Regions from separate parts of the Homo sapiens genome. Here region 1 is linked to region 2. The links are contacts of gene promoters, found by promoter capture Hi-C in blood cells and fetal thymus (Javierre and others, 2016). All regions are on one chromosome and are shown on one strand. The core of a region is centred on a gene start or on the middle of the fragment in contact, and the rest is flanking DNA. Distances in the headings are between cores, read along the strand shown.

Region 1 (7,064 bases), core at 2,898-5,397, about 26 Mb after region 2:
CTAAAAATACAAAAATTAGCCGGACGTGGTAGTGCACGCCTGTAATTCCAGCTACTAGGGAGGCTGAGGCAGGAGAATGGCGTAAACCCCAGAAGCCGAGGTTGCAGTGAGCCATGATTGCTCCACTGCACCCTAGCCTGGGCGACAAAGCAAGACTGCGTCTCAAAAAAAAAAAAAAAAAGAATTAAAATACATCTTTAATACTGAAAATAGGCTTTACTAAAGTTTGCATCTAGTTAACATGATACCATTGAGTCTCCTTGGTTTCTGCTTCTCCACTTTACATGAATACATTTTAAAAGAGATGTGGGTGGTCCATTTTCTAGCTGATAACCATAACCATCATACTCCTTGACTCATCTTTTTTCTTTGAAGTTGGTGTAAAAGAACTAAGTAAATGTTACCATTTATGCTCAAATTTATTAAGTGCTGTTAGTAACATGTGGCATACGTTCCTTGTGAAGCCTGGTGTGACAGGTTCTTGTTTTCTTTTTATAAAGGTGAGATTTTTCGTTCTTAGTAATTTTCATTAAAGTTTCACCCAATGTGTTAATTAGGGATCAGCTTTATTTCTTGGAGGCAATGAAGTGAAGAGCCGAGCTGTGGTGAAATACTCTTCTGCCCCTCCTCGAACAGCATTTGCACGCCTTGAAGAGAAAACAGACTTGAAACTCCCACCTGCCAACTGGTTACGAGAGAGTGCCAAACTAGGGCCAGCAGGAACTACCATTCTTGGCAACAGCAAGAAAAGCAAGCCATTTTCAAGGTAAATATTAATCAGTGGCATTTTTACCTGCCCCTCCACCCTCACTTAAAACTCTTATTTGCTTTTAAATTCAGTTTGTAATGCCTATTAACTTGTCGAGATTTCTCTTTAGAGAAAGATCACATTTGATTTTCAAAGGCTTTTTATTCTGATAATAGATGATGTTAAAACATGAAGATATACATACAATATCAATTGCATATGCTTCTTTTAAGTCTACGTCATGTTATCAGCAAAGATGAGTTTTGACTGCCAAAGTTCAATCAGCCCTTTCATTTTAGCCAATTTGCATACCTTTTGGATATGTGAATACAAAGGATCAGCTTGGTGCATGAGGAGGAAAACCTTGAACATTCCTTCATCTTTCCTGTGGAGTTTTTCATTAAATGGTGGCAGGTTGATCTGGAAAAGCCAGATTTAAAAACCCAGCATGTTGGGTGACCTACACCTTGACTTTGACACCAGAACTGATGGTGTTCAAAGTTGAGAGAGTAGCCTGAGGTCTTATAGAGAAAAATGTATTAATGTACATACTGTAGGACATTTAATGTGTAGGGTTCTCTTTTCTTCTTCCCCCTTCTCAGCAACTCAATCTAAAATATTTCCATGTAACTTGTAGCAAGAGGCACAAATACACTAATACTTTATGAGCTGGTATTTTGGAAATTATCCTAAAGCCTCAGAAAATAAAAGTTATATTTGCAAAAATGCTGTTTGTTTGTAGCATCATTTATAGGAGCAAAAAGTTGGGAATAACCCAAATATCATTTTTTAAAAGAATGGCTTAATCAGTTGTGATTTGTCAACATAATTAAATGTTGTGAGGAAATTTGAATAATTATATTGACTCTATACAAATGCTGTGGCAAGTATTTATATGCTTATCTCATTTAATTCTCACAACAACTCTTTGAGATAGGCACTGTTAATTATATTGCACCTGAGAAAACGGAAGCTGAGAAGAGCTAAATAATTTGGCTCAAGCATACAGTAAATCACAAAGCATGCTTTGCTGTTAGGTAGTCCTTGGTAAGTGTCCTGACTCTGCCATTTAGTAGTTGGAACATGGTGATGTCGGGTACCTTTCAGGCTTATAGACTATAGATGTGCTTCAGGTGGTACGTGGCATCAGTTGGCTGCTCAATTAACATTTTTTTTTAATTTCCTTTTGTGGCTGAATTGGTGTCAGGTACATTTTTTTCATGTATTTTTTTAAGAGGTATTGTATATCACTAGAAACACAATCTCAGAAAGTAAAATCCTGATAAATGTTTCTGTTTCTGTTTTTCTTATCTCTCCACCTAAAAAGAATAAAGTTTTGAACTATTTTCCCTTGGAGACTTTGAGTTTTGTGATTACAAAAATAAAGAATAATTGTTTTTATTCTAAATATTTCCTACTGGATGCTTCTAATGATTATTACCATGTTTTATCAAATCTAAGATGCCATTGACTTTAAGACACACCATTATTTTAGTACCACTAAGAAAAAAAAACTTGCCAACTGTGATGGTGATACACATCCTGGTTTCAGAGTTGTTAAAATGTGGAAAATGTGTATCCTAGAAGCAATGAGCTACAGTATTGTTATTAAGCTCTACTTGCATGATTATGAGCATGACCTCATAACCTGTGTCCTTTTTTCTCTTTGGTAGCTTTGGCATGGCATATGACTTTATTGATTCAGTGGGAAATGATGTGGATGTTGTCTCTGACTCTGAAGTAAGTGTTATTTGTCGCTTAATGTAATTTTGGAGGTGTTTTGTGATAGGTGTTTTATATCATGCTGTGTTTTGCATAATATAAATGTGCAAGTCTTGAGAAATTAGTGATGAAATAAGATAAAACTTACCTGATTATTGAGTATCTTTTTTGTTGTTAAAGTATCATTGTTTACCACATTTGTATTTAAAGAGGAAGGAATAATCAATCCCCAAACACTGGCAGTGGTAATAATATATTGATGGTTATATTTTAATGATAGTAATTGAAACTGATAATAGTGTTTGGGATTATTCTGTATATGTTACCAGTTGAGTTACAAATGATATTTCTAGTAAAATCTATTGGATCCTTAGTGGCTTTGATCTGATATGCTAAAAGCCTGGGTCAGCATAACAGTGTGACGTATACACCCTTAACTTTAAGAAATCCTATCATGTAAAAATAAATGTTTGACTGTCACTAACATAATGTGACTCATAAAGTGTACGTGATTCTGGTTTGAAAGCTCCGTCCTCTGTGTGTTTGCATGTAGCTTTTTGTTTAAAGTTCTATTTGTATAACCTTAAGGAAATAAGGTTTATTATGCTTTAAAATGAATGAAGCTAAAATTTAAAAGATTCCAAATCACACTAAAACAGTCTTTCTAAACTATTTTTTCTCTTAATTTTTTAAGAACATAAAAAAACTCCTGAAAATTCCCTACAGCAAGTCGCACGTGAGCATGGCAGTACACCGCATAGGAAGGACTCTCTTACTAGATGAGCTAGATATTCAAGAACTCTTTATGAGATCGTCTCAGGTAATGCTTTTGTGAAAAAATCCAACAAAACATTAACAGCTTAAGAGCACTAGAAATACGATTTTGTTTCAGAGAATGGCCAAAGTGGAAATGTAGTTGAGTACTTCAACAATCGAGAAATTGAAAGTTTCACTGAAGATAGAAAAGCTTGAATGAAGAAAAAAGAAGAGAATGAGAATGGTGAAGAAAATTATTTTATTGATTCCAACAGCCAGATTCTTTTTTACAAGAAAAAAGATGAAGCCAATGAAGAAAGTTGTGAAAAAAACTGTGAAATTTAAGGGACTAGTTTAATATTTTTAAGAATCCTTTAACGTCTCCCTTAAACAGATTCTCAGGAAACACAGCTACTGGAAAATGTGAAAAATATTAGAAGCTGTTCCTATGAATAAATACAGTCATGTTCCCATAATGACGTTTCAGTCAGCGATGGACTGCATATACCGGTGGTCCCATAAGATTATAATATACTGTATTTTTACTGTATTTGCAGTGTTCAGATACACAAATACTTCAGTCACATGTACAGATTTGTAGCCTGGGAGCAATAGGCTATACCGTATGACCTAGGTAGGGAGTAGGCTGTACCATCCAGGTTTCTATAAGTAACACTCTGCGATGTTCACACCAGGACAAAATCACCTAATGACGCGCTTCTCAGAATATATCCCCATTGTTAAATGACACATGGCTGTAGTTATTAGAATTAATTGATGCTCTTTAGCCTAGATTCTCAAATTGTATGTTGGTAAGGACTGTTTTTCCCACATGTTGAGAATGGATACTTTTGAAAAACATAATAACATTGTTGCAGTTTCTCAAGAACTACCCTCCATATCTGTACTTTTCTTGGGCTGGCAAGAAATAGTTCATGGTCAGTCTTTAAAGAATATTACTACAGTGCTTTGATAAAGAAAATTAAATTATGGTGAGGTAAATGACATTTAAAATAAGTGCTTTTTTCCTTTGAAAAGACCACCGTTTAGTTCATCATGTGAGTATGAGCCTAGGCACGGGGATGTGACAGTGAACAAATCACAGGCCTTGCTCCTCAGCAGTTCATTGTTTGGGGTTATAAACACATACACAGATCATTTCAATATAGTGTGCAAAGTGGGAACTACTGCAGCTGCTAAGGAACATGTTATAGAGAAGACTCACCTCTCCCAGCCTGGCTTAGGAGGAGGAAGACGGGTTTCCTTTAGGAAACAAAAAACAAAAGAAAGGTGGTATGAATTGACCCAGAAAGATATGTTTTTAATGAGTATGTGTTTATGAAACTATTCAAAAAATAATAGGAGCCTTTTCTGTAAGCTAGTACTAGGTAACATTGTTTCGACTATGTGTGTTGTATTAATAATATGTATCTCATGTTATCCAGACTGGTGACTGGACATGGTTGAAAGAGTTTTATCAAAGACTCATTGATCAGAAGTGGCAGAGGAAGAAAAAGAGCAAAGAGCACTGGTATCAAAAGGCAATTCTTTCCAAGTTTTTATATTACAGGTACTTGGCTACTTATTTATCTCTAAAGAGAAAAAGGGAATTCTGATCTAAAATTTAGTGTGAAGCTTAATGAAGTTATAATTTAAGTTTTGCCCCTGTGATACTGTTAACATTTGTTTCATATTTCTTTTTTACAAGATGTATGCTTAATTACAGATTGTAGTTTTTATAAACGGGTAGACTGTTGCATGAAGTTAACTTTAGTAACAGCAATCCTTTTTTATTTCTGGTTTGGCCAGTATCAATGGTGATGGAGCCGCTCAGCCTGTCTCATCCACCGCAGAACAGCAGGAATCGTCCAGTTCAGATCAGACAAATGATTCGGAAGGGGCTTCATGGCCTGCTCCCTTCGAAATGCCTTCTTCAGTTTCTGAAGATCCCAGTGCTTCCAGTCAGGTTAGTACTTAAATGCTAATTCTAGAAACTCACATAGGAAAACAAAGCCTTTTTTAACATCTCGTTAAAAAAAAAAAAAGATGAACAGGACTAAGAAATATTCTGTCAGCTTATGGAATGGGGGAAAAAAGACTTCTGTCAATTTATGGAATTGGAGAAATACTTTTTAGTTTTTCGCAATAGAATTTACAAGAGCTATTATAGGTGGGGAGATCAGATTTTTTTATTAAATCGAAATATAATAGTTGACTGATATGTTTATTAATACTGATTATCTCCTTCAAGTGATGAGTATTATATAGAGATATAGTATATTTTAATTATAAATACTAGTCATTTTTAACTATAAATACTATTTTAACTATAAATATCTGTCAATATTTGATAGACATTTCCTACCAAATATTGAGACTCAGAGACCCATTTGTAATTTAAGTTCTAACCTTTTTACCATAACTTTCAGTCAGATTGTTAGACCTAAAATATCCCTTTAAGGTTTTCCAGATAAAATTCCTGAAACTTAGTCCACATTCATGTTATAAAAGTTTTAGAAAAGAGAATGAACTAGGTTGTCCATTTTATCTCTTACATCCTTGTTTCTTCCTAATGCTTGTTTATTTTTGTACTTACTGTATCTATCAAAGAATAAAATAAAGCCATAGATGTAAATTGTGACATGTCTATTTTCAGGAAAATAGATTGATAAATAGATAATAAGATCTGTGACTTGATAAGTTACGTCTTCCCTCTTGCTGTTGTGTTCCCACATATTGAGCACTATTCAACCAGATTGTTTCAATCTTCACAAATTACAGGGAGCAGATACATTTAACTCGATTTTAGTTTCAGTAGGTTTAAGATAGAGAAAGCATCCCATAAAACTCCATAATGAATTTAAATTTCTTTCAAAAGTGAGAAAAATGTAAGGAAAAGGAAGTAATTAATATGCAAGTCACATAGTGGTAACAACCAAGAAGTAGGGATGTTCTATGATTCAGAAGGGAGAAAAGACTACATAATACAAATACTACCCTCCTATTACCCATGTCACCCATCTCCCAGTGTTGTTCTGTCTTTACCTTGTTTAGGAATTACTGTGAAAACTCTTGGAGAGTCGGGAATCTGTAGACTTGCGTGTTGAGGAAGCAAGCTGGCATTTACTGAATAGCTCTTATGCCATGTGTATGTTTGTACAAGGTTTTTTTTTTCATTCTTGGAGCTGCGTATTGTACAAATAAGTAAACTAACGCTCATCAAAAGATGTTTCACATGGTCATACAGCTGGCGAAACTCTCAGGCTAGGGCTTAAACCCAGATCTTTCTGCCTGCAGAGGCCTGTTCCTCCAGCAGTACTCCACTGTGTCCGTGTACTCCACACACAGCAAGGCCCTACTAACAGTCAGATCATCGTAGTAGTGGTGTATCCCTAGGCACAGCTAGCCTGCCTTAAGAGTCTCTTACAGAGTACTTTTCTTATATTGCTTAAATTTCAGCTTTAGAGATTTGTTTATATTTGCAAGCTATCTCTGCACAAATTCTTGTTCCAAAAACTAAAACTGCTGGCTTGAGGCCTTTGTTAAGCAGTTATAGAGGTTAAATAGGTGACTGTGGGATGGTCCTAGAGCCAGACATTTATTGAGAACGTTGTAACCTAGAGCTCATACTCTGACTAAAGCAACTGCCTGGCAAACTGTTTTGAGAATCGGTTCATGAGTTGATAACTTGTCTGTGTAAACAAATAATAAAATAAAAAAGAGTTTAAAGTTCTCTTAGGACTCCTGAGGGAGAGGACAAGGCACAATAGAAGTGCTAGAGAGCCACCTGTGCTTATAGTCACACACTCTTCCCAAGCAGGTGCCAAGCCTACTGGCA
Region 2 (6,605 bases), core at 989-3,488:
CTCACTCTGTTACCCAGGCTGGAGTACAATGGCGTGATCTTGGCTCACTGCAACCGCCACCTCCCAGGTTCAAGCGATTCTCCTGCTTCAGCCTCCCAAGTAGCTGTGACTACCAGTGTGCACCACCACGTCTGGCTAATTTTTGTATTTTTAGTAAAGATGGGGTTTCACCATGTTAGCCAGGCTGGTCTCGAACTCCTGACCTCAGGTGATCCACCTGCCTTGGCCTCCCAAAGTGCTGGGATTACAGGCGTGAGCCACCGTGGCAGGCAAAATCTGACGTTTTAAAAAGATGTATTTAGATTGACAGTAATACTAGTTCTTTGTATACATCCCGCTGCAAAGAAACGCTTGGAGGTTTTGGACTGGTTTTAAATTAAGAGACCAAATGGTGTCCATTCAAATTCAATTTGAGGCAATCTTTCAACATTTCTCCCACTCAGTTGCCTGCTAAAAACATCATTTTCCCTCAATGGGCCAAACTATGTAGTACTGACTTATCTTAAAAGCTTTATGATGAAAAATTTCAAACCTATACAAAAGCTGAGAGAATAATATAACGTATGCCCATGTACCCATCATCCAGCTTCAACAAATTACCCGCTTCAACAAACCATCACTTTTCAATGGATTTTTCCTTACCCCTCCCCATACTCCTTAGTGAAGACTTTTTTTTTTTTTTGAGAAAGAGTCTCGCTCTGTCGCCCAGCCTGGAGTGCAATGGCACGATCTCGGCTCACTGCAACCTCCGTCTCCCGGGTTTAAGCAATTCTTCTGCCTCAGCCTCCCGAGTACCTGGGACTATAGGCGGCCAACACCACGCCCGGATACTTTTTTGTATTTTTAGTAGAGATGGGGTTTCACCGTGTTAGCCACGATGGTCTCATCTCCTGACCTCGTGATCCGCCCGTCTCAGCCTCCCAAAGTGCTGGGATTACAGGCCTGAGCCACCGCGCCCGGCCGACTTTTTTTTTTTTTTTTTAACAAATGCTATGCACAGACAAAACGTTATCTATGAGAAACCTGATTCTGAGCGTCCTTCATGTCACACTCTGCTACAAAATGATTCCACCTTCTCTTTCCACAATTTCTAGTCCTTTTATTCTAAGTCTATTACCTAGCATAAGACTTTATCCTACCCATTTTCATCTCTCTGGCTGGTCTTTGCACGTGGCAAAATCCAAATGGAGAAAATAAGTGTCTGTGGGGCTTCAAACATCCAAATGATAGTGAGAAGAATAACAAATTCATCAGAGAGGGTTAGGGGTAAAAAATTTGAGAGGCACTCCAATATAAATCTTCTTGGCAGATGGGGAAACTGAGGCCCATGCTCTGAGCTGTCCAAGGTACAGAAGAGAATCACTTGAATCAAGAAATGAAGATAGGATGTGTGGAAAGTAAGCTTCTACCATCCATACTTCTCTCCACTCCTTTCCACCATCTCTACCCATTCCTACCACATCTGTGACGGCCAGAACCATCTCCCCAGACCCCCCGGGGGCAGCATTAACCTGTCTCAAAGCATTGTGTAACACCAGCAGATTTTTAAATCCTTAAGGGCAAAATCAAGCCTCAGTCTCCCCCTACAAAGCTTAATAAGGTGGCTGATTGATACTCGGTGGTCACTCAAATATTTACCGACTCAGAACAGAGCTTTCTAGCGTTAAAAGTTCTCCTTTACCCATTTCCTAGCAACCAGAACCCTAAGCCTATCAGGCTTCCTATTTTTCTACCTCTCTCTACAAGCTCCGGCAGCCTCATTTCTTAGGAGGATGCAGTATAAAGAAGGCAGAATGGGGAATCGGAAAGACTGAGTTTGTGTCTTGGCTGCTACACCTGGTTTGTGCGGCCTCGGACACATCGCCCCTTTCCAGGGACTCCACACCTGCATCTGTAAAATGGGCAGGTTTTAGGAAGCCTTCGTGGATCCAGCCTCCTCTCCGGCGCCGCCCTCTTCAGGCAGCGCCACACTGGGCCTCGGCTTCTCCCACAGTCTCCACGACCTGGGTTGGGTCCGCTCCACTCCCCGAGCTGCTCACACTCCAGAGCACTACATCCTTACCTCCCACTCCCAGGTTGACCTTGCGGGGGTCCGGATCCTCCCTGAAGTCGGCAGTGAGCTTGAAGACCAGGACAGGCTGGGCCTGCGGAACCTCGGCAAAGACTGACGGAGGTGCCATATCGAGAGACTAGGAATCAAGAGATTTCACCCCACGCCCGGAGCTGGCAGGTCAGGTCTGGCCGTTGCGACTGGAGGAGACACTCACCTTCACCTAGCCGGCGGGGGCGGGCCCGCGGCCTCCAATGGTCGAGCCGCGTCCAAAGCTTGGCAACGCGATTAACCAATCGCCAGCTTCTGACGACGAAGGCACAGGGGAGAAGGAACGCTATTAGCCAATCCAAGAAAACAATTTATCGGCTGCCGAGAATGATGCAACCAATGCAATTTCCTCCGGCTGAGGCGTGGGCGAAGACTACGGTTGATTGGTAGAGCGTGCTCCTATCGCAGAGGCTGTTATTCCTTGGGTCTCCCGGCTGAGGGGAGGAGCCGAGCGAGCGGCGGGTGTCCCTGAGAGGCCACCTTTCGACCTTCGAGGGCCAGGAGGATACGGGGAGGTGGCCGGAGGGAGTTCCCGAACACAGGTCTTCCTGTTCCCGCCGAGCAGGTGTTGGCGGTGCCAGGCCCGGCCTGGCGGGCCCGGGCTGGCAGCCAAATACCCAGCGTCTGTGCTCGGGACGGGAGTGTTCGTCCAGGACGTGCAGCTCCGGAGCCTGCGCGGGCGACCTTGACCACCTTTGTCGGCTGTTTCCCCCTGAGGGAAGTATACCTGTCCTGCCAGCCTTGGTCTCTGGCAGGGAAGGTCCTTCCAACAGAGAGGGGTGCGCACGAATTCCTTTTTGCCGCTCTTCTATTAATAGTTTGAGATTTTCCTCCCCGATTCCTTGCAGAGAGGGCCTGGTCCTCAAGGACCTCGGGATCTGGGCGCGACGTCCCTTCCCAGCTTCCTCCCGCGCGCACCGGACCAGATCTTGCTGTCGTCAGCTGGCTGGTACCCAAAGTTCCTCTTCGTCAGGCTGTTCCTTCCCCGTTAGAGTCCTTCCTCCCCAGGAGCCCTCTCCATCTGCTGACCTTCAAGACCCAGAGCGAATGCCACTTCATCCATGAAGCCTTCCCTTAACCCTTATCTGGCCAAAATGTCTCTTTCCTGTGCTTCTGTACTTTCACAATTTTAGAAAATGCCTTTGTGGTTAAAAACCTATCTCCGGGACCGGACTATCTAGGTTTAGATTCTGGCTGCCGCTTACGAATTTGGGCAGGTTTAGTCAAGTTATTTTAACCTCTCTGTGGAAGTTCCTGCTCTGTGGAAATAATAGTATTTTCCTCAGAGTTGGTGTGGGGAGTTTGTGAGTTAATACATTTACGAAGTGGTTAGTTGCATGTAAGAAGGACTCTCTAAATGTCAGCTATTATTAACATTGCATATCTGCCACACCCTTCATAGATGGTAAACTGCTTTTTTTTTTTTTTTTACTTTTATTTTAGGTTCGGGATACATGCACAGGTTTGTTTTATAGATAAATTGCTTGTCATGTGGGTTTGTTGTACAAATTATTTTGTCACCCAGATAGTAAGCATAGTACTTGACAGGTATTTTTTCTGATCCTCTCCCTCCTCCCACCCTCTAGCCTCAAGTAGGTCCCAGTGTCTGTTGTTCTCTTCTTTGTGTCCATGTGTTCTCAATGTTTAGCTCCCACTTACAAGTCAGAACATGCAGTATTTGGTTTTCTCTTCCGCATTAGTTCACTTAGGATAAAGGCCTCCAGCTCCATCCATGTTGCTACAAAGGACATGATCTCTTTCTTTTTTATGGCTGCATAGTAGTCCATGGTGTATATGTACCGTATTTTCTTCAGTCTACTGGTGATGGGCATTTAGGTTGATGCCATGTCTTTACGATTGTGAATAGTGCTGCAGTGAACATACATGTACATATATCTTTATGGTAGAATGATTTATATTCTTTTGGGTATAGACCCAATACTGGGATTGTTGGGTCGAATGGTAATTCTGTTTTAAGTTCTTTGAGAAATCGCCACACTGCTTTCCGCGGTTACTGAACTAATTTACATTCCCACCAGCATTGTATAAGCATTCCCTTTTCTCCACAACCTCACCAGAAACCAGCATCTGTTATTTCTTGACTTTTATTAATAGCCATTCTGACTGGTGTGAGATGATATCTCATTGTAGTTTTGATTTGGGTTTCTCTAGTGATTAGTGATGTTGAGTATTTTATATGCTTGTTGGCCATGTAGCTTCTTTTGGCTAGGGACCTGTGAGTCTCCCTAGGTTTCTTGCACTTACTAAGCCTTCAACAAATGGTAGAAGAGTCAATTCTCTTGGTGTTTCAGAAGAAAACAATATCACAGCCCCTCTCCACTGGATAATACTATAAATCTTAAAATGAATTTTCATTCAGAGTAATAAACACAAGCCAAAGAACTTTGTATAACATCCGTCAACTTTTTGTGTTATCTATTTCTTTTCCAAAACATTGCCTCTGGTTTTAAAGGTAACTGCCCACAGTGTTTCACTAATAACATTTTAAGCATTACAAGTTCAACACTGAAGGTCAAATGACAACGAACTTTCAGTGCTTCCAAAAGCAGGGGCAGAGGGCAACTGCTGAGGGGGGCATTGTATAGCCTAACCTTCCCAGAATTTGATTTAAAAGTATGATCTTCACAGCGTTGGCCAGCAATATCATGGTCACTCCCTACGTCATTCCCTGGGAGAAAAACAACCCTAGGTTACCTAAACAATGTTGGCGAAGACCAAATATTTATTAACATCCTAAGCCGCCCCATAATCAAGCCAATGCTGATAGGGACAAAGAAGGTGCCATGTGCAGTTTTTCTCCATGTCCCCACAATATCTGCTCTGAATTTTAAAAGGCAATTACTGGGGGAGAAGGAAGCCTATATATTATGTAGGATCCAAGTCTCAAACTGCTTTCCTAGGGAGTGTGAGGTTCTTGGAGATTAAGTGCAGTACCTTTCTGTCTTGAGCCTTGTAGGCTGCCCCTCTAATTTAATGCCAGTCTTGAAATAAACAGAATGCTTTCCAAGTCATCGCTAATTTTAACACTTTAAATTTAGAATTGCTTAGAATTGACTCAACACTGCCTCCTTGCTGAATGGATAATTCAAGCAAACAACTCAAGAGCTGGATGCTGCCCAGACAGGTAGGCAGCCAGATAAAGTGAGTGTCCAGGGAAAGAGCAGTAAGGGTCAGAAGAGAAAGAGCCTGGTGTTCTCACTGCCTCCTGCCTTCCTTATGACTGTCTGTTCAGAAGTCCTCCTAGCATCTTTCTTCTGCCTTCCCCTGCTCCTGTCCCTGAAACCTTTTCTTCAAAAGAAGTGGAAAAGAGGAACTGGGAACCCATATAGCAACAGCATCACCTGGAATGAATTCCTTTAGAACATACTGTCTTGGAAATCTGAAGCCTGCAGGGCTGGACAGGCAAGAAGAGCAGTGAGCACTGCATGAACCTGTAAGTAAATCTGCATGTGGATGGTGTTTTGGGTTTTTTTCAGACAGAGCCTTACTCTGTTGCATAGGCTGGAGTGCAGTGGCACGATCTTGGCTCACTGCAACCTCTGCCTCCTGGGCTCAGGTGATTGTCCCACCTCAACCTCTCAAGTAGCTGGGACCACAGGTGTGCACCAACATGCGCAGCTAATTTTTGTAGAGATGGGGTTTCGCCGTGTTGGCCAAGCTGGTCTCGAACTCCTGGGCCAAGCAATCGGCCTCCCAAAGTGTTGAGATTACAGGCGTGAGCTACTGCACCAGGCCACACATGCTTATTTTACTCAGTCTTGCCCCTGAATACCCGAAGGTCTAAACTTAGGAAAAAGTCAGGGGAGGGATGAGTTTGTCATTCTTTGGAGTCGTTATATTTGGGTGAGTGCTGGCACTATGGGTAGGATATTATTTAGAAGCTGAGTTGTGTGCTGAGCAAATGTTTCTTTAAAAACCAAAGCCGTATGAGATCTGTTATAGAGGCACAGTGTGGCTAAATAGTGTGCGATAAGATAAGCATAGGGCTCCTGAGGTGTTGCTGTTCTCCCACTGTAATGAGTTTACTCTTCTTCCTAAGGAAAGTGATCCTTTATCACCTCTCCTCTCAAATTCACTGGCTTGTTTCGTGAGTGTGCCTTCATGGAATCATGTCTCCTTCTCTTCCCTCAGTTCTCTCCTTCCCTCCCTTACGTATGACTCCTCCCATAATCCGCACACATGGATTGAACCAAGTGAGGGTATTTTTCTGTTTCCTACCTCATAGAAGGGCATAGAGTGGACACGGTCTAAGGTTAGTTCCTGAACTGAGTACCCACATATGCAGAACTTTATTTAAAGCTGCTGAAATCTTTGTATAACAGATAGATCAATAGGACTGAAAACTACTGATGGTTTTACTTACTTGTTGAACGTGACTAAGTTCCATGGCACCATTTAGAAATTGTGTTGTATAGTTTTCGTATGTTGCTTAAGAAACAGTTTAGCATAATGGTTAAAAGCATGGCCTCTGGAACTAGATTGC

The links. The method cuts DNA at HindIII sites, captures the fragments that hold promoters and counts their contacts. A CHiCAGO score of 5 or more calls a contact.
Region 1: a fragment that was not itself captured here is called in contact with the fragment with the promoter of GOT1 in region 2 in 1 of 17 cell types (total CD4 T cells); the score reaches 8.9 in total CD4 T cells.

The regions. Positions count from the first base shown.
Region 1 is chr10:125,720,647-125,727,710 of GRCh38, forward strand. It overlaps EDRF1 (erythroid differentiation regulatory factor 1), which reads left to right. Exons shown (of 25, transcript NM_001202438.2): 2 at 558-766; 3 at 2,422-2,488; 4 at 3,165-3,290; 5 at 4,672-4,796; 6 at 5,036-5,192. Among named protein-coding and RNA genes, the nearest start is that of EDRF1, 4.5 kb to the left of the region's middle. The HindIII fragment of the contact is 1,424 bases long and covers 3,436-4,859 here.
Region 2 is chr10:99,428,386-99,434,990 of GRCh38, forward strand. It overlaps GOT1 (glutamic-oxaloacetic transaminase 1), which reads right to left and starts at 2,239. Exons shown (of 9, transcript NM_002079.3): 1 at 2,063-2,239. The coding sequence starts at 2,180. It overlaps GOT1-DT (GOT1 divergent transcript), which reads left to right and starts at 2,551. Exons shown (of 5, transcript NR_183993.1): 1 at 2,551-2,880; 2 at 5,161-5,246; 3 at 5,355-5,555. RefSeq lists enhancers at 2,080-2,139, 2,160-2,209, 2,390-2,819. The HindIII fragment of the contact is 734 bases long and covers 1,590-2,323 here.